Linked DNA regions of Homo sapiens: all the other regions are linked to region 6. The links are contacts of gene promoters, found by promoter capture Hi-C in blood cells and fetal thymus (Javierre and others, 2016). All regions are on one chromosome and are shown on one strand. Each heading gives the region's core, a stretch centred on a gene start or on the middle of the fragment in contact. The rest is flanking DNA. Distances are from core to core; before and after follow the strand shown.

Region 1 (3,519 bases), core at 258-2,757, 500 kb after region 6:
CAGCTACACGGGAGGCTGAGGCAGGAGAATGGCGTGAACCCAGGAGGCGGAGCTGGCAGTGAGCAGAGATTGCACCACTGCACTCCAGCCTGGAGGACACAGCAAGACTCCGTCTCAAAACACACACACACACACACACACACACACACACACACACACACACACACGCAAAGAAGAAACTAAAGGTCATATTTTCCCTTTCTTCCAATCTACTCCCCAGGCTTAGAAACCAGGTTTGTCTCCAGATATTTTTCTTTTTCCTTTTTCTCTTTTAAGACAGGGTCTCACTCTGCTGCCCAGGCTGGAGTGCAGTGGCGCAGTCTCAGCTCACTATAGCCTTGTATTCTTGGGCTCAAGTGATCCTCCCATCTCAGCCTCCTGAGTAGCTGGGATTACAGGCGTGTGCCACCATGTCCATCTAATTTTTAAATATTCAGTAGAGACAAGGTCTCACTACGTTGCCCAGGCTGGTCTCAAACTCCTGAGCTCAAGTGATCCTCTCACCTTGGCCTCCCAAAATGTTGGGATTACAGATGTGAGCCACCATGCCCAGCTAGATATTTTTTCAAACACCTATTTCATTTCTAGTTTGGCTATTTAAATATCCCCCCAAATACTTGGAGAAACACAGATTTCTAAGATAATTTTTCAGAAACAAATTAGCACGCATGTTTATGTGTGTATATACTCTACTTGTTTAAAGCTTTAACTTCATTATTTAAAAATGTAAGTTTTCTGTTATATAGAGATATACACACAAACACACAAAGAACCTGTAACTAAAATTAGTCTTATTCTACCATTTTCAAGTGTGGGAAGGGATATTTTTAAAACAAAGAGTACTTTTTGAGTTAGAAAGATGTAGACTATAATACAATTAAAGGATAAAGGAGCATACAATTCACACATTTTACACCTAAATTTATTGTCCTTCTGGAAAGCTATGTTTTTCTCACAAAGATTAGAATTTACTGCATTACCCTCTAAAATACAGAAAAATCTTTCCACTGTGTTAGACTATTTTAGGTGAGGCTCCTATGAAAAAAACAGCCAAGCAGCTTGAACTATCACATTAAATGGATCACAGGGTTTATAAAGTGCTGTTTCAAAGGCATTCCCCACACTAAGTATCACAAACAGCAAGAGAAGACTCCACTTCAGGCCCAAGACTAAAATCGTTTCCCTGAATTGTTTCTTGTCAAATTAAAATGTCAAAAATTATTCTATCAAATTCTGTCCCTAAGGATTCTAGCTCAATCCAAAGAGTAGCTACCAATTAGTAAAGTCGGGCCTTTTAACAGTACAAGAAATTTTTTTTCTATTGATATGTAAAATTAGCAGGTTCCAAAAAGAAAAGTTTCATCTCAGCAGTTAGGTTAAGTGCTACTGATAGCTATAATCACATGCAGGCTGCAACTCCTTTTTGAAAGGCTTTTCAAATGAACAAATACAAAGAAAAAAAGAGAAGCACAAGTGTTTTCATAGTGAATGACTGCCTAGGATTATAGTTATAAAAAGCCAAGGTTAGAGATCCAGATATCCATGAGTATTGCGAACCAACAAACCAAAGTCAAACGAAATCCTTGCTCCCTCTTTTGACAAGGTCAGTGCACCCATCCCTTAGCACAATAACCGACTGAATTGCAGGCTGTACAAGGTGCTCCAGGAAAATAAAATCTACCACCAATCATTTAACGTTTTTCTATTGCTTTGGATGAGCAAATAAAATCCTCTAAGAAAAACATTTCCTGTTCACTTTGTTGTTTCGCCAAAGCTGCGTATCTTCGGAAACTGACTTGTTAGCAGTATCCGTTCATTAGCAGCATAAATATGCAGATGTAATAAGATGTTCTTGGCAGCAAATCATACTGTATCTTTTTCACTTGCCACTCCAGATGAATTTTTATAGTACATTTATAATTTATCCACAGAAGTAAGAGTCATGTTCATCTACCAGAAAGAGCTATGAGTGTTCATGAACTTCCCCCAAAAAGTTCTAAAACTTTATGTCAAGGAATAGAAATACAAATAACAGGAAAAACATGCTCACATATAAGACCGTTTACATGAGGCAGGTACTTAAGTTGCCTAAGTTTACGGTTTGGCAAAAATCATCAAATGACCTGTGGCTACTAGAGTGATCAAAGTTTCAATTTTAACTGTGGCGAGAAACAATGTTATCGGCAAAAATTCAATGGTATATATTCCCATGCATATATTCCTTCTGCACTTTTCATAAGAAGCCTCTTAGACTTGAATTATCAAATACTTCCCAGTGCTGACGCTTTTTAAAGTCTCCATTCCCAGATACCAAGCTTTTTGGCATTGTGGCTAAGCAGTGACAAACAGATCATTTCCTATTGATTCTACTTACCTCATCAAGACTGCTAGAATCCAGTTATGTAAAGAATTATTTTCAACAGCCACCTTCAATTACAAATGTATGACATGATCACAGACTTCCAATGCTAATCTCCTTTCTAGTTGAAATACCCACACAAGAGCCCTTTGAGACACACAGCATGGCTACGTGATTTGCTTTGCTTTATCCTGCAAAGAGGCTGAAATACACTGGAATCTTCTCTTCTCCATAGTTAATGCAATACACATCTTTTATGCAAAGTGGTATGCAGACCAACATGCTTTTGTCAAGATATGAGTCTTGCCAAAGGGATTTTCTTGGTTAAAACACTATTTCTCTAACTTGAGCTTCTAAACCTGAAGGCTGCTTAAAGAAAAGGAAAGAAAATCTTCATGTAATTGACTATCATTTCTCCAAGTGTTTTACCTATAGACCATACTTCCTTAGTTTACATACATTTGCATGACTTGAATACTACATCTGTAACTTCAGAGTCCTATTGGAACCACAATTCTGGACTTAGAAACTTTCAGCCTAGTTTACTGAGAATACGCATCACTTACCCAATGAAAAGAAAAACTGAATCTATGAAGGATAATCCTATCAACATACTAAATTGTACTTATCTGTTGAAGAGATACTTTTAAATTCCAAAAAATAACAATTTTCTGGCACACTAAATTCAGGCATTTACACCAAGGGCAAATATCGAACTCTACTATTTCCATGTGACAACCAACTAGGGCTTTGAACAGAAAGACAATCATTGTGCTTTACGTGTAGGAGGATTCATGAAAATCTTAAACTGAATTTTTATAAGTCAAAATCCATTTTAAATGCAACAAAGAGCTCACCAGCTAAAGGAACTACAAAGTTAAATTTTTACATTGCCAAAGATTCACTGGTAAAGTGCTGATTATCCCTTATTTTATGAACTTTTAACTTATGATTGTATGTTTGGAATTTGTGTAAGTGAATATTTTTCTTTATGCCTGTATTATTCCTAGGCTAGTCATGGAAATATGGACCTCCAAATTCTGTTAGAGAAAAAAAAGGTCTGTCCCCTTTAACCTACTAAGGGAAGTAGAAAGAGACACAAACCTCATGCTGAGAAGGACCAAGCAAGCACACAATAAACACACAAATTACCCCCAGAA
Region 2 (3,384 bases), core at 522-3,021, 450 kb after region 6:
GAAATTACTCCTCTAATATATACAGAGAGAGACTAGAGAAAAAGTTCTGGGTTAACATACAAATATAAAATAATTTGGAGACAAAACATTCTTTTTAAAGATTCTTCTGCTCATTTTCCTCTTCTGATAAGCAACTTTAGTAGGACAAATGTGGCAATTCGTCCACTGCAATTAACATAAATCTCCAGTTCATTTTAAACCTATCAAAATGTGAGTATTAAATTATTCCAACATTCTTATATACACAGTCTTTCGAAGCAGAGTTCTTACAGGTCAGATTGAAGACAGCCTCAAACTATGAATGGTGCTACAAAAGGAAAAAGCGTTATCTAGCAGGATCTATTAGCCAAAGACTAATGTACAGCCCTAACAGAAGCATAAAAGCAGGATATTACAATGTGGTATTCCCTATCTTGCCTAAGATTTTATTTGAATTTCTAGTAAAAGCAAAAATGTAATCCAATTTACCCCATTGTCAATGTGTAAGATCGTGGTACTGTGAGATAATGACTGGGAGCATGATTCACTTTGAAAGACCTGGGAGAGTTTTGTCAATCTCAGGTGGTGGTAAATTGCCATTTTATCTTTCTATATATCACCTTAATTTAATTATTCCCTTTGTGAGTAGAAGTGTAAACTTATTTAAATTTAGTGTTTTGAAAGAACAGTGTGGAATATAATACAAATTAATAGTTGTACATTTCTTTAGGTACAAATTTACTTTTCCACCCAACGGCACTGTGAAGGACTCCATTGAATAGTAACATGTTATAAAACATCAATCTAATTGTCCAACAAATATCAGCAGTTTGCAAACCCCACTTTTACCACACTTTAGGGAGCAATTTAGGAATAATTATGATTACTTACACTCTGCTTGCAGGTAAAAAATAAAGTCTTATTGACCAAACTCAAGCGATAGTCTGCTCTAAGTTCCTCAGAGTTCTTACAATGCACGAACATTTGTTTGTCTACTTCTCACAAACAGCACGGTTTTTCATGTGTCACAATCATTCAGCAAATTATGAACATTGTTATATCTTAACATTATAAATTTTTAAAAAGCACATTCATATTTCTATCACAAAATCTTGTTTCTATTCTAATTTGAATCAACAGAATAATCACAGAAAGTAAGAAGTAAAAAATTTTACTTCTCCAAGCTTTGTTTCTTGAATCCATAATTTTTATATATTTTAACAAAGTTTTCCTTTGCCAGTTTTGGGTAAATATTATGTAGCTCAAATTTAGCATCTCTTTTCTCCACACTCTTAAAATCTCCTTGTGTACACCCACCACACACACAATTCCTCTACACTTCTTAGTTTGCTATAAAATGTTTTTCTAAGATATTCATTTTGACACAAAAGTTAATGAAGGACATGACAAACTCTTTTCATTTAAATTTAATTTTTAAGAGAATATATTCTGAAATTAAATGCAGATTAATATTAGTAAATTTCTATAAGGGTGAATTTACTTTTCCACTTCAAAACCAGAATAAAGTAAACCAGTTCATTTCAGAAAGAAGGCAGAAGCATTTTTTAAAAACTGTGTAAGAATGTATGCAGCATTATCATACGTATTTATATGTAATCGTATTGCAGGTATGTGATAGTAGATTTAGGAATAGAGTTTTTAGAATAATCATCACCTGGGCTGCCTAAATTATTTTTGAAAGACTGCTTTCCCTTAAACCTGACTGTACAACAATCTATATTTAGGTCAGAGCAAAAACATAAATGTGCGTAACTTGACATGTGTAATCTTTTCATTTTGTCTGATGATGATAAAGAGGAAAGCCATTATCCTAACTCTGAAGGCCACTCAGAGGGAAACCCTCTGAAGCATAGGGAAGGGGACTTCCCTGTCACCCCCCTTCTGATAGGGATAACAAGCAAACATTTTCTCCCTGACACAACTTTGCAATGTATGTAGTTAGTTAAATCCTGCGAGTACAGATTTTTTTAAAGTTGACTTTAACAATAAATAGTAACCAAAAAATAAAAAATAAAAAAATAACAGTGGTGATTTTGTGTTCTAGTAGTACTTTTACCCTGGAATTAAACAGCAAATTTTCTTTCCAAAAGAGCATGTCACTGCTAACCCTGTGCATTTTTGAAAGCTATTGCCACAAAGACACATTTATAAAATAAGCCCCACTTGTTAAAACTGTAACATTGCCACCATCACTACAGTTTCACCTTAGTGACTTAAATAAATATACATAAAGTAATAAACACTATATGTTTTATAGAGTTCTGTGAACCAGAAAAAAAAAATCACCTTACTAAATAACCTCCTGGCAAATGCAAAAGAAAAGCTAAATTTGGTTTGCTCATATTTTCTGAGTCCCCAGAATATAAAAAGCAGTGGGGGAAAGCTTGTTTAACTGAAAGACTTCTGCTTATTTCATTTTCCACACTGGCCTTTCTGGAAAGTAAGGGGAAAAAAAGTATTAAACAGGAAAGAATGAAACAATTAGAAAACGGCAATCAATATATTCTATGTTTTAAGATGACCTTGATAGAAATTTTTCTGCTGACCGAGGTGAGAGACTGAAAATAAGCTCTGTAAGAATCAGACAGGATGGCCTGCTATCCCAGGTGGTCAAATGTCCAGCAAGTAAGTTAACCCTTTTGTTTTCTTGACAGTTAAGTGATGGTAAAAAAAACTTTCCATGCTACTGCTGTTAGATGGTTCTCATGTCAAATGTTTATTCAGAATTGAGGGACAGAAAATATTAATGGCTACTGTCATATAACCAATGTTAAAAAATATATTGTTTCAGACTTGCTAATACATAATGGGCATTTTGTAAAGTTTGAGTATAATTTTCGAGTCATCACCTGGATGCTATCAATAACAACAACACTTATTTTAAATAGCCCCAAATTACATACAGTTGAGTAAATTTTAATTTGTTTTCATTTAAGGTCTTCTAAAGTTGAGGCCAGCATGCTGAAGAAAAATATTAAACTATCTATAACCCTGTGTCAACATATGATGCTACTGGGAATGCTAAGTGAATTAATTTTCCAAGGAAAATTAATTACTTATGACTTACAGTTGTAAAAGCAAACAACGTAACTCTGGATTAGGGCACGTTTAATTTCTGTTTGTAGTAGCGATTAAATTAATTTCATTTAATTCATGGTATGTAATGGAAAGCAGAACAAAAATGAAATTCCAGACAATGGCTGACATAGAAAATGTATATATTTATGAAGCCGATCCAAAAATAAAGGTCATGGATATTAATCACTGGATAATAGACCTGTATTTTTAATGGCTCTATAATAATGGGTTTTTATAGCATCATTTTTGAAAAAGTATTATCAAATAGAAAAGTCTAACACAGAGAAACAAAATATAAAACTGTAA
Region 3 (3,334 bases), core at 696-3,195, 480 kb after region 6:
AAAATCATCATCCTTTCAGTGAACTTAAAGTCTTCCACTCAGGCAGGTGTTAATTCCTTTCATCATTTATTTAATCAAATAGTCACACAAATCATTCTCTTTCATTCTCTTCCTTTCTTCTTTGGCTCCAAATACCATACAACCCACAATGAGAATACTGTCTTACAGCTGACATTTGTATGGGGATTGCCATTTTGTACAGCTTATGAAAAATTTTTACATTAGAGTTCTCCTTTATGACATGACAGGCAAAGAAACATCATCTACTCTAAGTATACACAATACATGTGGCTCTATACCATGTGACCATGTAGGTGTCAATATTCAAAACCAGAAACATGTTAGGGCTCACTTTTTAATTCACTCTTAGCAACCTCTCCCTTTCTCTGCTCCTCAGTATTTACTTCAATTGCATGAGGCAAATTTAATGGATGACATGTAACGTACTGCCCCACTGTAACAACTGAACATTGAGAAGTAAAATGTGGAAAAGTTAGTTTGCTATCCCCATCTTTGGAGAATTCTTGAATAAATTTTTATGACAAATGTAAGCCACCACAACTTGAGAAGATTATTCTGGGGAATGTGACAACTTCTCTTTCTGCAACCAAGATCTACTCTCTTAAATTTAAATAGAAAAAAATAAACACTACAACTGAAAAGCAAGGCTGCTTATCCTGTTTTTCATCATCACCATCATCATGATACAATAACAGCTGAGTGCATATTATACACAAAGCAAAAAAACACTTTACAGACATTATCTCATTTAATGGAGTAGGTTCCATTTTGGGGATAAGTAGTATGCCCAAGATCATATAGCTGGAAAGGAACTGAGTTAGATTTGGACCCTAACCTGCTTGATTTCCAAGTCTGAGCCCTTAACCAGCACAACCAGGTAACCCTTAAATAGTTTCTCAAACTCTCAATAAAATGAGAACTCATATTTTTGTGCCAAACAACCAACGCAACATATTTTTCTAAGGAAGAGCTACTTTCTCAAACAAAAGATCTAGAAGAACTCGTATCTCTCTTCCTTTGCCTTTTTCTTTGATCAAAAGGTAAAGTGAATTGTTTACTTATCTAAAGCAGAACTTGAGGACATACAGGAGTCAAATACGTTCCATAACTTCAGAGACCAGCTTCAAAATTAAAAGGTAATACTGCATTTTCTCCAAAATAACATTTACATTACGCTTATCTTCTAATAATATAATGATCAAGGAGAAAATGTAATGTTAAATAAAGCTTGTAGTGAAGAAAATGTAGTGTTACATAATAATGTGATGTTAAAACTAAATTAAGAAGTGATTTTTTCAGTTCCATTATAGTGGCATTTCCTAACCAGGGGCCCTTGGACTATTGGGCAGGAAGAGGCAGGATTAATCAGAACTGCATGTAAAATGTTTGTGTTTATATAAATTTTCCCCCAAGGAAAGCTGGTTCTAGCATTCATTGATTACTTAAATTCGTGACCCCCAAAAAGGTTAAGAAACACTACTACAGGATAAGAATATTTAGCCACCACCTATGGAAAATTCATTTTTAAATACAAATCAACATTCAATCTAACAAAGTCTTTTCTAAAAAGACAGAGTATCCATGAAGTACAGGCTAGACCTATTATTAAGAGAAAAGAATATTTTTGTAAATCTCACCACAGATTTATTTTCTATCATTTCCAGAAGCCTCCAAAGTTACAACTATTTAAATAAAAGGAACTTAAATGGTAAATAAAAATTCCAATTAACTGTGGTTGTTAGCAACTGGGTACCTGAGAATTTGCTGGGCTTTTGGAGGTTATAATTTTCAATAGACTGAGGGAAACTATTGCAAAGAAAAACACTCAGATAATAAATATTCCTCCAAATACCATACTGCCATTTCTTTTAAACAGAGGAATACAAAACAGATGTGACACATTGCACCCAAAGATTGTGGATTAACATTAATATTAAATCAATACAAAATGTAGTAAATTTCATATGCTTTACTTACTGAAGAGTATGTGTCTAATACACAGTTCAGTGCTCAGCATAGATCAGAAATCTTAAATAACCTAAATGCACAGAAAAACCTCAACATTGATTACTTCAATATAAAACATGTAAGGACTGAAGAAGTATATGTGACTAGAATTAATGAAACAAATCAAACTGGGAGTGATGATTTTTTTCCAGACATTGCTAAGAACAAAAGTTTTAATACCCTCCCTTTTTCATTCCTATTTAAGAGTTCAAGAATAGACACTTGCCAAAAGTACACTAAATTTACGAAAACACTTTCTGTTTGATGGGAAATTTTCCAATAAACTATTGGGAAATTATTCCAATTATCTCTAATATATTTTGAAGAAAGCAAAAATGAACTTTATATAAAATTCATATATCTAACGATTTAATATTACATTTCACAAAACAAATTTCTCAGCAGTACAAACAAATTAGCCTCAAAATCCTAGCAATTTGATTATTTTATGTATTTTGCCATGAAGCAGATGACTGAGCAGAATTTATCATCTGGGGGGATTTTAACTGCCACAGTTGTAATTCAACTAATTATTTATAGATTATTACAGTACTCAGAAGGCCCTTCAAATTGCTATAGTTTAGACCTTCACCTAAACCAATACATTAGTATTTCAAGCTTTAGATATAAGAAAGTACACTTCAGAAGCTAGCATTGAATTTACATTTTACCAGATCTAAAAGTTAATATGCCAATTCTCTATAATTAAATTGATAATTTAAGATATTTTATTTAAGCACTATTTTTAGGATTTTTATTTTAAGGAAACAAACCACACACTTATAAAGTAAAAAGCAAGTAAAGTACCTACAATATCAACGCATTCACTTTCAAATTTTTTAACAAAAACCCTATTGAGTTAAAAATGCTGCTTTATTTAATTAATTTATTTTTTTGAGACAGAGTCTCACTCTGTCGCCCAGGCTGGAATGCAATGGCGCAATCTCGGCTCACTATTACCTCCGCCTCCCAGGTTCAAGAGATTCTCCTGCCTCAGCCTCCCGAGTAGCTAGGATTATAGGTGCCCACCATCATGCCCAGCTAATTTTTGTATTTTTAATAGAGACGGGGTTTTGCCGTGTTGGTCAGGCTGATCAGAACTCCCAACCTCGGGTGATCCACCTGCCTCAGCCTCCCAAAGGGCTGGGATCACAGGCGTGAGCCACTACGCCCAGTACAAAAATGCTAAGTTTTATCTTAGGTAAAATTCAATGGTGTTACTTACAAAAAGCTAATCATTAATCAATATAATTTGTTTTCTGTATAAAAGATATACGTTTAAATAACAGAATTGATATCTCTACAG
Region 4 (3,738 bases), core at 1,000-3,499, 380 kb after region 6:
GGCACTCTGAGAATAAAAAGAGGCAATATTAAAAATTATGCCAGGACAATGGGTGTTTCCTAGGCAAATGAACAAGACTGGTCGTCTTTAGTAACTATCCCCTACTTATCACGCATGGAGAAAACCAGACACTCATTCAGTCATACAAATATCTTCATCAGGCAAATCAACAGCAGCAGCAGTAGTCAGAATGAACAGGATACCAGTCCACTGTGGGCTTTATTTTGATCCTGAATGGTCATGCTAATCCTTACCATCTCCACTAAATAAAAATGGAATAAGAGTCACTTCCTTTATATACTTGTTTTTCTTGTCCCTTCACACCTGATCTATATTTGATCTTTAAAACGGCCATTTCTATCCCCATTTGAAGTTTAATTCTGATTTAAGAAAGGACACACTCTTCTATGCTAAATCAAACAAAACCATTCTTCAAATTTTCAAAGGCTTCCCTCTTCTCCAAAGGTTGCATAAACCATATCTTTTTTCATCAAGACTGACTTCTAGGTCATTCACTGAATCAACATAGCAAAAAACAAGTCACTAGCCACAAACATTTATTGTTGGGGTCAATACGTATATCCTTTTGAGAAGTGTTTCGAGCCATTCATTTGATAACTACAAACACGTCAGAATCTGTTTTACTGGTATATTTTTGGCTTGCATGACAAGGGAAAAGAGATTATTGCAAAATTATGAATGAAGTCCAAAAGGCCTGATTAAAAAAAAATCTATAAAATGGAAGGATTAAACACTGCCCAGCCCTACTGTGTCAACAAAGACGGTACAATTCAAATCAAGAAGACAATCCCATACAAGTCCAGCAAGGCAGATGTTGGCAAGTAGAAGTTAAGCAATCTGTTATACAAAATGCAAAAGGAGTTAAAGATAAATTACAAAAAATAAAAAACAAAATTTTAGTCAGAAAACTATTACTACATAAAGCCATATAAGAATGTGTATTAGTTGTTTCCTTTAAGGGAAAAGGAAATCAAACTGTTGGTTTTCTATTTATTCAGAAGAAAAAATAAAGGAAAGTGTTTGGAAAATATTTCTGATATTAAGTGAATTATTTCTCATCTGCTACCTAGAGTTTACAAACAACTGACTTATCCTTGTCAATCTGTGGAAATGAGAAAATAAAATCAGCGTCTGGCCTTCGTGGGATACTCATAACACCCGAATGAGGTCCAGAGTAATCCTAGATCGGGGGATGTCAATGTTGAGTACTTGGACTTCCACTCTTTCTCCGGGGCCCAGTCCAAGGCTTCTTCTCTTCTTTGTTTTTGAAAGTTTTGCTTCTGTTACATTTCGTATGGGAATCAGCCCAGATTTCCCCACTCCTATATCCACAAAAATTCCAAAGAGAGTGGCATTCTCAACTTTGCCTGTAAGAACTGTCCCAATCTGCAGATCTTCCAGGCATACTATGCTTCTCTTGAAATCAGGTTTATCAAAATCTGTAAGAGAAAAAAAGTAAGTGTAAATAAGGCATTGTACTTCCTAGATACAACATAACTTTGTGAATAAGTACTTACTACATACTATGTGCCCAGACCAATATTAAAGATTAAGGGGGGATTATAAAAGGAGCTGCAGACCAACGCTTGCCTTCAGAGAACATGCATATCAGTTGGAGACAGCATTCATGCAGTAGAAACAATTCAAGAAAATTTACTTCCTTCTACAATGCTACACACTAGCATTATACATAAGGATCGAGAAGACAGTCTTATTTTCCTCTTTGTGAAGAGGTGATGAGAATATATATTTGCTTAACAAATATACAAAGCTAAACCACAAACACTGAGAAAGTAAGACCTTTGGAAACAAGAGACTGGAAGCTTTTTTTTTGGTTTTTCCCCCAGTGCCTGGATTATTAAATTGTTTAAAGATGGTAGAAAGTACATCAACTTTTGGCCAAATGTGGATGAAATTCAAATGTTCTTTCTTCCTCACTTCTTCCCACAAATTTGGAACTCAGAAAATCAATTCCCACCTATTTCATATATATTTATCCAATCAACATTTATGGATTCTTGATTATCTATGGCTCAGAATCCCAGACCAGGTAGTATCTAATATTCTTTCTCTTCTTTCAATTAAATTCATCAAACATTTGTTAACTCTATTATCTCCTGGCCAGGCACTCTGCTGGGTGCTAGAGAAACAATGATGAAGATACAGATTTCTGTTTCCAAGTTCTTTATAGCCCTTTTTTCTTGCTCACCCCAGCATACATTTCTTTGTTCATTATTGTCCAAAAGGTAGGCATAAAGCATGCCAAGGAATCATTATGGTTCTAGTTAAAAACAAAGGTTTTTATGAGGGAGACAGTTAGAGTTAGAACTAACAGTTTAAACGGGGCTGTGGATTATCTGTGGACTCCATTTATCCATGCTCCTCCTGAAGGCCCCCTTTCCTAGGATTACTGAGTGTTGACTCTAATAACAAAGAACACATTCTATGCTTGGATCTCCTTTTACTAAGGCCTCATTTTCCCCTCCACCCATTCCATTTCCTTTTCCTCCACAGCTGTTGGCTTTATCCTGATGACTTGTTAAAGCTATCCTTTACATTTGTATTAACAACTGGTCACCCCTTTCTTCCCTTCCCCCAGTCCAACCATACTGATACCAAGACGTTTTAAAAATTAAGCTTTTTCTTATAAAACAAAATAAAAACCTTCTTTAAACTCCAAATCTCACTGTACACATAAAAATGAGTACGCTAAAATTGGAATTGATTCTGTGGAATTTTACCTGATGCTAAAGCAGTGAATTCCAAAAGCAAGAAACCTACTGTAATGTAATATTACACCAGGCTAAGGCTGTGTCAAAGCAAAGTGGAACTAAGTCACTGATCAGGGGCAGAGGTAGGACGGGTCTCCGAGACCCCATAGGCATTGTTTTTATGCTTGGAAATTCTTTCTCTCTCTCTCTTTTCTTGGGGAGGTCCAGCTGCTGCAGATTCCCTAAGGGTTCCTGATCAGCTGTTTAGTTTAATCTTGCAAGGAAAATCAGAGTCAGGAACTACTTAACATATTCCTGAAGACAGTTGGGGACACTGAGAAATCAGAAAATCCTCTGTGTACCATGCAAACTTTAACACTTTCATAGCCAAGCATTTTCAGCCCCTGTGTCTGGACTGCTTCTAATAAACCCAGTTAGGGAAATTAACTAGTCACCATAGTGTTAATACACATGAAATTAATTACACCATTGACAAAACAAAAGACAGAATTATTATGAGTAAAGAATGAGGCATTAAGAAAGGAAATACTTTTGAGAAAATGGAGAAAAGAGATGTAACATAAAATATCATCACGTGGAAATGCCCAAAATACTATCTGCCCCCTCGAAAGTATAGTTTGTAAGCCTTCCTCACCTTGGGTATGTGTTTAGTAGTAAGATGAAAGTTCTCAGACATTTTGAAAATTGTGACTTACATTAGAGCAAAGGTCAGTTCCAAAGTTTTTTTAAAGAGACCTATTTAAAACTTCACTTGCCACACTGATAGAACACTGCAGTAAGTGGAAAGCTCAGTCCAGAGCCCAGATGCATCTGTCTTTTTGCTCAACAACTTGGTAGTTTAATTGGACCATATAATTTGAGTGTTGATCTTTGCTCTGAGTCTACAATGCAACTGGGATAATGGAACAATCGACACTATGACAGAAAAATGAAGATGGATGTGAAAAATCCAGTACAGGATACCTGCAGTTACAGCATTTTTTGC
Region 5 (3,598 bases), core at 1,025-3,524, 340 kb after region 6:
GAAACTGGTATTCTGGGAAGGCCAACAGTAACAAGGATGCAGGCACAGAAAATTGAGCCCCAGATCTGGGTCTGGATGAGGGACTTTTCTTGGCCAGTTTGCATACCAGTTCTGATTAGTTGGCAGTGAGTCCTGGGGCCTAAGGCTGAACAAGATTCTGGTTCTACCTGCTCTTGCAACCTCATCTCTGCCCTTTTTGCTCCTGGAAGACTGGGCTCCTCATGGTTTCCACCACACACTTTGTATATTCTCCACTCTATTCCTTGGCTCTCCTCTGCCTTCTTTTCTCCCACTCCTCATCTCAACATCTGGAATGGAAAGCCCTCCTCACTCTTCTTAGCTTCTTTACGTCTGGCCTTTTCTTCTTGACTCAACTGGTTGGATGCCCCCAACACTTGATTCACCTAAGACTCTAGGAATCTAAGACAAGATTCTAAGACTGATTCCAGAAAAAGACTTTAATGATTGATTGCAAATGTCATCCCAGGCATAGGAGGGAAGAGTAATGGCTTAAATGGCTTGACTATTTCCAAACCAGCAACAAGGTTTGCCTGTAGAACTGGGGCCAGGGTCAGAATGGGAAGAGAATCAAATGGTACCTGAAGTTATTGAGTCCTGATGCGGGACCAGAGTTGCATCAATTCCTCCTGCCGGAGGACAGGACTCATCTGCATAGAAGTGTATACCAGAAATTTAAACTATGAGATGTTGGGGAAAGTGCCTAAAATCCCAATGCTCTCTTCTTCAACTCACCAGTACTTCATTGAAATAGAAGCTGACCTCCTTCAGAACTCGTCAGATTCAATGGATGCAAAGATAATGGGCTTGTCCTTTTTTTCTTGGGATATACTTCTATATGGGGCAGATGGCAACATACTGAACTTGTAGGGGTTATGGGGGGAGAGACTGCCAAAGCTGGACGATCAGGCAGAACTCAACAACCACAGTCTTCAGGCCAAAATGAGCTTCTGGCCATTTATAATTCCTCCAAATTGTAGTGATGCTTGACGTTCCTCAGTTTAAGTGGCAAATTTATGCAATCGGGAAGCATTCTGCAGAAGCAATTGTTGCAGTGAACAAAAAGAGAATTCCAGCTGTTTCAGGTCAATAAAACAAAACAGAACAAAAAACTTACAAAAACCAGGGGACAGGGAAGGGAGATGAAATGAGGATGGAAATGGTAATAAAGAGATTCACTTCCATAATAAGTAACTGGCAAAATATTTGAAATGTATTTATGTATATTTAAAAGCTTCATACCACTACTTGGAAGGTTATCCTGCATGGGAAACCTGTGATAGAAACTGATCGCGTTTTCTCTGAATGACTTTATTGTAAAAAAAAATGTACATTCTTAATGAGGCAAGGGAAGGCGGGAGGATGGACCACAGCAAGAAGGAAGGCAGAGCATCCTGAGGAGTTTGGAGTAGGATTTTATGCAAATCTAATCAGTTAACAAATCAAATCACAATTATTTAACCCATTATCACTGGTCCAGAGTAATGCCAGGCATATTATTCTTATCAACCCCTCACCCTGTCAAGCCCAGGAAAAAATACGTGTGTTTACTTTTATTATTATGCATCCTGTGATGAGCGCCACAGTTGCTAAGTGCATGCAGCACCTTTAACTAAAGAAACTAATTGCAAGCCACTTTCAATATCTCTTGTTTTTTAATTTAATGTCCTCAGAGAGATATAATTGGGCTGGAGGGAAGAATTTTCACTGAAGTCATGAATTTGCTATATAAATACAAACAAGAAAGAAAGCTAATACAGTAAGGGAATATGGGATTAATTTTGAAATTGTCTGATTAGTGGATTGCTGCCCATCAATAATTGCCTTATATTTTCCCAAGGCCCTCTCTTTATTGGAGTCTGGCACCGCATCTGCCCACAGTCTGTCAATCAGCCTGTGCAGCTGGGAGGGTCTGGGGAGACCACAATTGGAAGCCTGCTGGGGCACCTTGTTAGACAAAGCAATATATCCCAGACGTGAAAACACTCCCATCTCAACTCAGCTGCTAACATCTTTACACTCAATCCTCCTGCCTTGGAGCAGGACCTCAATGTGACTAAGTCTGATTTTTAAAAAGGAAAAGAAAAAGTCACAACTGCCTGTTTACATGTATTTTACAGGCCTGGGCTCTACTGGAATTGGAGGTCAGAAACACCTTCCCCCTTGCAGTCGCTAAGTTGCCTAGTAACATCCTTGAGAAGAGCTCTGCAACAGCTGGAATTTTTAAAGCAACATCGGCGTCATGGGGGACACCTAAACACGCTTCAGACATTTAAAAATTAAGAAATATGATCAGAAGGGCTATGAGCAAGTGTGCAGATGGTGGGTTTCTAGCTTAATCAATGCCTAAGATCTGGAATGTTCCTTAAGCTCCAAGAACATTTCCCATCTATCCTCCCCAGGCCTGGTGCTCCCAGGTCCTTAAAGACATGATCACAGAGAAGATAGGAGGGTCTGTTGACTGAACTCACCATAAACATCTTTTCAAACCACATGCACACACACACACACACACACACACACACACACACACACACACACACAAAGCTGCAGCCCTGCTAATGATATGTTTATGCCATGCCCATTTCCAGAAATATTTATTTCTCTCTACCTTGCCAGCAATCAGTCAAAATACACAAAAATGGATTTGCATGTAAAGATGCTTCATTTAGAAGACCAAAAATATGATAATAGAACAAAGATGGCCCAGAGCATGCTTTTTTGTTTTGTTTTCTTATCTTCTACTGTTTTCCTTTTCTGTTTGGTAAGCTGAGCATTTGTTTTAAATTGGGATTTTGTCCTTGTGAGGTAGGAAATAAAATGATCTGGAGCCAAGGTACCTAAACATGAGTTTATTAGTGTCAACCAAAAAGTGACTGAGGCAGATGTCAATTGATTTAGAGGCTGATTTGGCCAAGGTTGAGGATGCACCCAGGAAAGAGACACATGGGTCCCAGTAGGATCTGTGTCCTGCGCTTTTTCCAAAGAGGGTTTTGAGGACTTTGATATTTAAAGAGGAGAGGGAGAAGGAAGTGGAGGAGGAAAGGAAAAAAAGGCGAGAGGGCAGGCAATGAGGCAAGTGGTCACATTCTTGTGAGGCTCTGATTGGCACTCAGTAAAGCTACATTTTACATGTGAGAAGAACGGAGTGGTGGGGAAGTCAAGCATGCATTCCTATCTTGCTCAGTAGATCTACATTCTACATGAGATAAAGTAAACATATAAAACTACAGCTGTTTGGGAACAGAAGGAAGGTAGCTTTTTGCATGACTCAGTTCCCAAGCTTAACTTTCCCTTTGATATAGTGAGTTTGGGATCCTGAGATTTTATTTTCCTTTCACATTAGTCATTGAAAGGCAATTTCCTTTCCTCATCACAGGGGCAGAGGTCTAAAGGACAGAGCTAGCTGCAATCCAGGCCTGCGTGGTAAGAAAGCCAGCCCCTGGAACACTGAATGGCTCACATCCATGTTCACCACAGAAACCTTAGGAATCATCCATTCCTTCCTTCTACTTTCCATTTGGTTTTCAGCCTTGAAGTTGGTCACACCTTCCTCCAGTGTGTCTTCCTCCTGTGTGAC
Region 6 (3,742 bases), core at 968-3,467:
CACTCCGGGAATCTGCAGCTCTCATCTGGGGCCTGGTCTGAGAACCCAGGTTTTCAGGAGTCTGATCACATGCCGGTTTGGGTGGAGGGGGACCCAGCAGAGAGAACCCACCTCCTTCTATGCCTTTGACTGACAGCTCCTCCCCAGATTTGGATATTTAAAATCCTGGGTAGGATCTCTTGTCACCAGCTTCGGGAGGGTTTTTCTTTCTGCTTTCCTGGGAGGGAGCTTCCCACAGGGCTGGCAGCTGAGACCTCACCACTGTGGAAACTCCAACCTCAGGGTCTCAGATACCTGGAAGTATCTGAGCCTGCAGCACTCCCCCTAAGATGTTTCTGGTTCAGCACCCTCACCTCTGACCCTGATCATTCAAACTCAGGGTGGAACACACCCCATATCACCAACCCCAGGTGTCCTGTTTTGCTCTTACCCCGGGCTGGATTCTGTTCCCATAATAAGTTTCTCTCCAGGTTTGAGGTCCTGAGGGGTTATAGGGCAGGCAGTGGCAAGGGCCTAATGATCAACCTTTAGGCTGGTTCAGGAAGTCCTGGTTTACCTGAGGACATCCAACTCCCAGCCCCTCTGTGCCTCTCAGCTCACCGCAGACATTCCGACCTACCCATCAGAGGTAGGGCCTAAGGAGAGAGGCATCAAGGGCCTGGAGTGCCAGGGAAGGGCGGCTATCTCTAGCAAGGCAGAAAACAGGGCATGCGTCTCTTCTCTCCCAGAACTGACACTTCCTCCCTTTCACCTCTGGATCCTTTCTAAGGAGATAAAGGACCCGCTCTCAACTCCATGTGACAACGAAAATTCATGGCCTGGCTTTTCCCCATCCAGGTCATTCTAGGGAAGTTCCAGCCCCAGTCCCGACCCCATCACACTTTGGCCTGGAGCTAAGGCTGGGGGGAAATGCCGGGAAGCACCACCAGCAAGAAATCTGCAAATCCCCTTTCATCTGGGCTCAAACCCCTCTGTCCTGAGGATGACCAGACCTACTGTGCCTGCCTCACAGGGGATACAGGCCCACAGTTCTGCGCTGCCCCGAAGCTCTCTGCTTCTCCACCCTTTTCCTCTAGCGACCGAGTAGTTAGTTGACAACTTCCTGAATTGCTCTGCCCGCTTTAGACAAATCCCTGCTCGCCGGGTCTCCGGCATAGAAAGGCCTAAGCATCGTCCAAGTCAGGCCGGGCTGCCGCTGGGCTGTGGCCGGGCCTGGGGGCCCAGTTTAGGCCTCTCCGGGGGACCGGCAGAAGCCCTGCGAACCCCTCCCTTGGGCCCCGGGGAGCTGGCGCCGAAGAAGGTCTACTTACTCGTACCTTTCCTTGGCCTCGGCCGCCCGGTCGCGCTGCCGCCGGTTCTTGAACCAGTTGCTGACCTGTGTGGTGGTGAGGCCCGTGGCCTCCGCCAGCTCACGCTTCTCGCGGGGTGAAGGGTAGGGGTTGTGCGCGTACCACTCGCGCAGCACGCTGCGACTCTTTTCCTTGAAGCAGTAGCTGGTCTCCTCGCCGTCCCAGATGGAGCGCGGCAGCGGGAATTTGCGGCGCACGCGGTATTTGCCCACGGCGCCCAGGGGTCGGCCGCGCAGCTTCTCCGCCTCGATGTAGTGTGCCTTGAGCCACAGCTGCTGCAGCTTGGCGTGGTTGTGCGGCGAGAACTGGTGGCTCTCCAGGATCTTGTAGAGCTCGCGGAAGTTGCCGCGGTGGAAGGCCACCACGGCCTTGGCCTTGAGCACGCTTTCATTCTTGTGAAGGTGCTCGCAGGCGGGCAGCGACCACAGGAAGCGGCCCAGCCGCTCGATGTTGCCGCCCTGCTGCAGCACCTCGCACACGCACGCCACTTGCTCCTGCGTGAAGCCGAAGGTGGGCAGCATGGACATGGTGCCGGCTGCGTCCCCGCCCGCCCGCGCGCGCCCTCACCGGGCCGCGCGGTCCCGCATGGGAGCTTCCTCGCCGGGCCGTCCGGGCCGAGACGCGGGCGGGGCTGGCCCCCTGGCCCGGCACTGGCCCCCGGTGAGCCCCGAGTCACTGCCGTACGTCCCCGCGCCGGCCGCGGGTCCCACGAAGCTCCGAACCCCAACGGCCCGCGCGCCTGGCCCAAGCCCTCGCCCAAGCCCGGGGGCCGCCCGGGGCGCCGCTCCGCATGCTCCGCGCCCGCCCGCCGTTCCCTCGCTCGCTTCTCACTCGTTCTCCCTCCCGTCTAGCTGGCTCTCAGCTTTCTTAATAATATTATTCTAAGCGGGCATGAGGCGCGGCGGCCCGCGCCCTGATTGGTCCGGTTATCTGACCCGGGGCCTGCCAGCGCCAGACAATAGTCGGAGTCAAATTATTCGCCATGGAGACGCTGTCAGTCACTGGTAACCCGAGCCTCGGCGGGCCGGGCGGCTCCCCCCGGCCGGCTCCGCTGACAGATCGCCCCGCTCCGCGCAGAACTGAGGGCGGCTCTACTGGAGCCTGGGGCGCTCTGAGAGCCTGGGAGGCGGAGAGGGGCCGGGTTGGGGCCGGCGGCGGCGGAGATTGACGGGGCGGATGCCCAAAGAGGGAGGGAGGAGGAGGACAGGAGAGCGGGGGGAGCGGGCGAAGACGAAAAGGGGTGGATCGAGGTGGGGAGAGAAGAGGAGAGAAGGGAAGGCGGAGACCGTTTAAGGGGGTGTCCAGGAGGAAGGGGAGGGAGAGGGGTGGAAGGAGACTCCAGGGGAAGAAAGTTTGGGCAGCTTTGGCTAGGAGAGGGCTCTGCAGCCTCGCCCAGACCCTACAGGGTTCCCCTTCTCCCCAGGTCACCGCGTCCCTCCCAGGCTCTCTGTTCACCGGGCACATTCTACCCCGGCGCAGGCCAGTGGGATGGGAGAGTTTGGACGTGCTCGGGTGCCGCCCAAAGACTTGGCTTTTTCTGCTGACAGCGCCCCACCCCCATCCTAGAAACTCTGGACTCAGCGGTCCTCGAGGGAAAAGGGGAGGGAGTAGACGAAAGAAATGGGGAAGATTTGGCAGTGGCCGCAGGCGGACGCCGGAGAATCGACTTCCCGGAGGATCCCGCCTTTCCTCCCTCTCCTAGCCCCGCCGGCTGCCTGGCGGCCTGTACCGCCCCAACTCTGCGCTCTCTGCTCCTCGCCGGGCGGGGACTCAGACTTAACCCCACGGGTCCCACAGCCCGAGGAGCGCCAGGCAGTTCCGTGTGGCCTCTATGGAAGCTGACTCCGGCCGGCAGCTGCGACGCAGAACCCCGGACGGCGCAGACCCGCAGTCTGCCCACCGGGGCGGGGGAGAGGGGCGACGGCAGGGACTCTAGGACGGTGGTGGGGCTTCCCCGGTGGGTGGTCGGGGAGGAGAACGGAGGCAAGATTCCCAGTCCTCCCGCTTCGCCGCTGGGGATCGGCTCGGCTCCTGGCCACTCCAGCCTGGGAACCGGCTCGCTGAGCTCCGGGATGAGGTGCTTTAAAAGGGGGTCCTGTTTTTTGCTTCTTTGTCAGGGTGCCAATGGAAACATGTGGTGCTGGTCCTGTGGGAGAAGGGCTCGCACAAAGGTGGGAGAACTGAGGATGGGTGTGTTCTTGCTCTACGTTTTGAAAAGCCCGGGGCTTAGCTCCTTCCCGGACATGTCCTTTCCACTTCCTTCAGTTTCCTCCTCTTCCCCCCTCAGCTGCTGCAGGCCAGGAGCTCCTAGGGCCATACTCAGTGCCTGACCCAAGCCAGCACAAATCCTGGGCTCTGCCCTCAGCCAGTCTAGGGCTATGGAACCCGAGTCT
Region 7 (3,643 bases), core at 957-3,456, 410 kb after region 6:
TAGTGTGTATATAGTATGTACACACAATATAGTGTGTATATAGTATGTACACACACATATAGTGTGTATATAGTATGTACACACACAGTGTTATATAGTATGTACATACACACACATATAGTGTGTATATAGTATGTATATACACACATATAGTGTGTATATAGTATGTATATACACACATATAGTGTGTATATAGTATGTATATACACACATATAGTGTGTATATAGTATGTATATACACACATATAGTGTGTATATAGTATGTATATACACACATATAGTGTGTATATAGTATGTATATACACACATATAGTGTGTATATAGTATGTATATACACACATATAGTGTGTATATAGTATGTATATACACACATATAGTGTGTATATAGTATGTATATACACACATATAGTGTGTATATAGTATGTATATACACACATATAGTGTGTATATAGTATGTATATACACACATATAGTGTGTATATAGTATGTATATACACACATATAGTGTGTATATAGTATGTATATACACACATATAGTGTGTATATAGTATGTATATACACACATATAGTGTGTATATGTGTATATACACACATTTAAAAAACAAAAATATACATCTATAAGAATATATTTTATATATATGGAGGAGTGTGTATATATAGTGTGTATGTGTATATGTATATACACACGTATATACACATGCATATAGTCTGTATACGTATATATAGGTTAAAAAACAAAAATATACATAAAATATTTTTATATATGTATAAAATATATAGAGAGAGTGAGAGAAAAGGAGGGGAGGGGAGGGGAGGGGAGGGGAGGGGAGGGGAGGGGACGGGAGAGGAGAGGAGAGGAGAGGAGAGGAGAGGAGAGGAGAGGAGAGGAGACGAGAGGAGACGAGAGGAGAGGAGAGGAGAGGAGAGGAGAGGAGAGGAGAGGAGAGGAGAGGAGAGGAGAGGAGAGGAGAGGAGTCTGAAACTAAAATCCCAGATCATCTTATCATGGGAGGCAGAGAGAGTTGAAGAGAGAAAGATTGGGAAGGATCCTGTTTCTAGTCTTCTCTAAGAGGACAGACACCTATTAACTCCAGAGGTCAGTCCAAAACCAATTTAAGGATGATCATAAGAATAGAAGATGTACAACTTTGAAATCACTAAGGAGAGATAAAGATGAGATGGGAAAACAAGGAGAGAAACAGAAAACTTATTAACTGATAAATCTAATAAATAGCGTAAAAGGAAAAGAAGAATCAGAAAGCATGATGGAGGGGCAAAATACGTAGGAAGAATAAGCCCAAACATATAAATAAATACAACAAATATGAATGTATTAATAACAGATTGAGTAAAACCACAAAATCTAGCTATGTGTTTCTAAGAGCCATATCAAAAATTAAATGTCATAGAAAGTATAAAAATTAAAAAAAACAGGCATATACAGTAACATTGCTAGCAAATAAATTTCAAAGCAAAAAACATTAAATGTGGTAGCAATATTCCATTCTGAATAAACCTATAGTTCATGAGATGTAACAGTCACAAATCTTCAAGTACCTAATTATCAGCTGGAAAAGTACAAGGCTTTAAAATAAGCTTCATCAATAAGACACTGATTAGACTAAATTACAGCCCATCCATACAATTAAATTTTATGCAGACAATATAAAGAATAAAAAATTAGAAATCTATATGTAATAATTTGGAAAGAGATCCAGAAGACTGAAACAAATAAAGCAAGTTTCAAATAGTTGCAGAGCCTGATCCCTTGTGTATACATTTTTAAAATAATAAACATATACATACAAGGTGACATAACTGTAAATTTACTTTCTGGAAGCAACATATAAGAAACTTTTTCAAGTGAGACTTGAGAGGCATCTTTTACTTTTTGTTCTTTTTTTATACTGTGAGTTTTTTGGTGTTTTTTTGGTTTGCTTGTTTTTGAGACAGATAGGATCTTGTTCTGTCGCCCAGGCTGGAGTGCAGCGGCATGATCTCGGCTCACTGCAACCTCCACCTCCTGGGTTCAGGCAATTCTCCTGTCTCAGCCTCCTGGGTAGCTGGGATTACAGGTGAGCACCACCATGCTCAGCTAATTTTTGTATTTTTAGTAGAGACGGGGTTTCACCATGTTAGCCAGGCTGGTCACAAACTCCTGGCCTCAGGTGAACGACGGCTCCTGGCCTATGCTGTGAGTTTTCTAACCAAGTGTTCAAAGAACATATAAACTAACAAAAACAGAATCATTTTATCTTCAATTTTTTTCAATTGTGACTTCTAGGTTTCATGATCTATTTAGAAAGAATTTCCATCACTCTAATGCTCTGCAAGATTTCCCCATGTTTTCTTCTGGTGCTTTTACAGTTTTTTACTTTTTTTGACATTTAAGTCTATGATAAATCTGTAATTTATCTGGGTATAGGAGTGAGAAGTGGGACTACAGCTTCCTTCACACATATTGAATTACTGGCAGTTGTCATAATATCATTTGTTAGATAATTAATCAATTTTACCCTACCATTTGAAATGTCACCTTTACCACAAACTAAATTCTAACCATGTTTTGGTGGATTTCAGACCTTATTCTGTGCTATTCCTACATCAAAAGCAAACTGTTTAATTTCCACAGCTTTATAATGTATTCTAGTGAGGCTTAATCAGTCTTTTCCAGAAGAAAGGTTATCTTCCATATGACCTCTATTATAATTTTGTCAAAATTATAAAGTCCATATGAATTAACCACGTAGTCCCAAAGTAGCAGATACGTAAATGTTCTTCTTTCATGATTATATCATGCTAAGAAGTTTATCTAACAAGCTTTTGTGCTTTCAGGATTAGAAAATAAAGAAATTTAGCTCTTGATCCACACAACTGATAATCAATGCTTTGGTCCATTTTCAGTGAGGAGGGAGTGGGGAAACATATCTATGCTTAGGGAACAGCTATGTCAGTATAAAGTGGTCATTTTGAAGTCACCATTGTCACCTCATCTTGTACCAGTCCTTCCCATTTGCTATGCCCTAATTGTGTGGGCCTTTGCCTCATTTCCTGAATACACCAAAGTTGGTCCTGCCTTAGGACTGTGCACACTTAGTGTTCACTTTGCCTGGAATGCTCTCTTTCTGATCCTTGGATGGCATTTCATTCAAAACTCTGCTCAAATAAGTTTTCAAAAAATAACGAATCTAAAGTAGTTGTATTACTCTCCTAAGACAGTGTCACATATCCCTGCTTTAATTTTTATAGCACTTCTTGCCATCTGAAAGTACTAATTTTACTAGTTTGCTTATTGTCTGTGTCACATGTTAAAATATAACTCCATGAGAATCCGGAATTTGCTGACTTGCTCACTGTTGTATTCCCAATGCCTACCAAAGGACAGTCACTCAACACTTAACTGAATGAAGGCATGAACAATGGACACTTAGAAAATTTTACACTAATCAGTGGTAGGATAGGTAACAGTAACAAGAGAGGAGGTTGACAATAGAATCAAAGTGTATACTTATACTCACCTGCAAAACGTTCGGATATAATCCTGGTTGATTCTGATGAAGCCAGCACACTGTTGGAAGGATTTTGGGCCCAGCCCTTTCACTTTCTTCAGCTGTTCTCGGTTGATAAAGGGTCCATTTTTCTC

What was found. The method cuts DNA at HindIII sites, captures the fragments that hold promoters and counts their contacts. A CHiCAGO score of 5 or more calls a contact.
Region 1: a fragment that was not itself captured here is called in contact with the fragment with the promoter of SIX2 in region 6 in 7 of 17 cell types (endothelial precursors, M0 macrophages, erythroblasts and 4 more); the score reaches 11.9 in endothelial precursors.
Region 2: a contact is called between a fragment that was not itself captured here and the fragment with the promoter of SIX2 in region 6, in 5 of 17 cell types (endothelial precursors, megakaryocytes, erythroblasts and 2 more). The highest score is 9.2, in endothelial precursors.
Region 3: a contact is called between a fragment that was not itself captured here and the fragment with the promoter of SIX2 in region 6, in 9 of 17 cell types (endothelial precursors, fetal thymus, M1 macrophages and 6 more). The highest score is 17.8, in endothelial precursors.
Region 4: a contact is called between a fragment that was not itself captured here and the fragment with the promoter of SIX2 in region 6, in 1 of 17 cell types (megakaryocytes). The highest score is 5.7, in megakaryocytes.
Region 5: a fragment that was not itself captured here is called in contact with the fragment with the promoter of SIX2 in region 6 in 1 of 17 cell types (endothelial precursors); the score reaches 5.2 in endothelial precursors.
Region 7: a contact is called between a fragment that was not itself captured here and the fragment with the promoter of SIX2 in region 6, in 1 of 17 cell types (M0 macrophages). The highest score is 5.6, in M0 macrophages.

What each region holds. Positions count from the first base shown.
Region 1 is chr2:45,509,480-45,512,998 of GRCh38, forward strand. All of the region lies in intron 14 of SRBD1 (S1 RNA binding domain 1), which reads right to left. Among named protein-coding and RNA genes, the nearest start is that of SRBD1, 100 kb to the right of the region's middle. RefSeq lists a silencer at 1,491-1,785. The HindIII fragment of the contact is 1,612 bases long and covers 702-2,313 here.
Region 2 is chr2:45,453,757-45,457,140 of GRCh38, forward strand. All of the region lies in intron 16 of SRBD1 (S1 RNA binding domain 1), which reads right to left. Among named protein-coding and RNA genes, the nearest start is that of SRBD1, 160 kb to the right of the region's middle. The HindIII fragment of the contact is 1,220 bases long and covers 1,162-2,381 here.
Region 3 is chr2:45,488,916-45,492,249 of GRCh38, forward strand. The region is part of intron 14 of SRBD1 (S1 RNA binding domain 1); the gene reads right to left. Among named protein-coding and RNA genes, the nearest start is that of SRBD1, 120 kb to the right of the region's middle. The HindIII fragment of the contact is 1,398 bases long and covers 1,247-2,644 here.
Region 4 is chr2:45,388,140-45,391,877 of GRCh38, forward strand. It overlaps SRBD1 (S1 RNA binding domain 1), which reads right to left. Exons shown (of 21, transcript NM_018079.5): 21 at 541-1,460. The coding sequence ends at 1,171. Among named protein-coding and RNA genes, the nearest start is that of LINC01121, 140 kb to the left of the region's middle. The HindIII fragment of the contact is 814 bases long and covers 1,843-2,656 here.
Region 5 is chr2:45,350,756-45,354,353 of GRCh38, forward strand. No RefSeq gene overlaps it. Among named protein-coding and RNA genes, the nearest start is that of LINC01121, 98 kb to the left of the region's middle. The HindIII fragment of the contact is 2,049 bases long and covers 1,251-3,299 here.
Region 6 is chr2:45,007,235-45,010,976 of GRCh38, forward strand. SIX2 (SIX homeobox 2) reads right to left here and starts at 2,218. Exons shown (of 2, transcript NM_016932.5): 1 at 1,317-2,218. The coding sequence starts at 1,876. RefSeq lists enhancers at 913-1,686, 2,691-3,290. The HindIII fragment of the contact is 4,145 bases long and covers 1-3,742 here.
Region 7 is chr2:45,414,847-45,418,489 of GRCh38, forward strand. It overlaps SRBD1 (S1 RNA binding domain 1), which reads right to left. Exons shown (of 21, transcript NM_018079.5): 18 at 3,519-3,643. Among named protein-coding and RNA genes, the nearest start is that of LINC01121, 160 kb to the left of the region's middle. The HindIII fragment of the contact is 1,224 bases long and covers 1,595-2,818 here.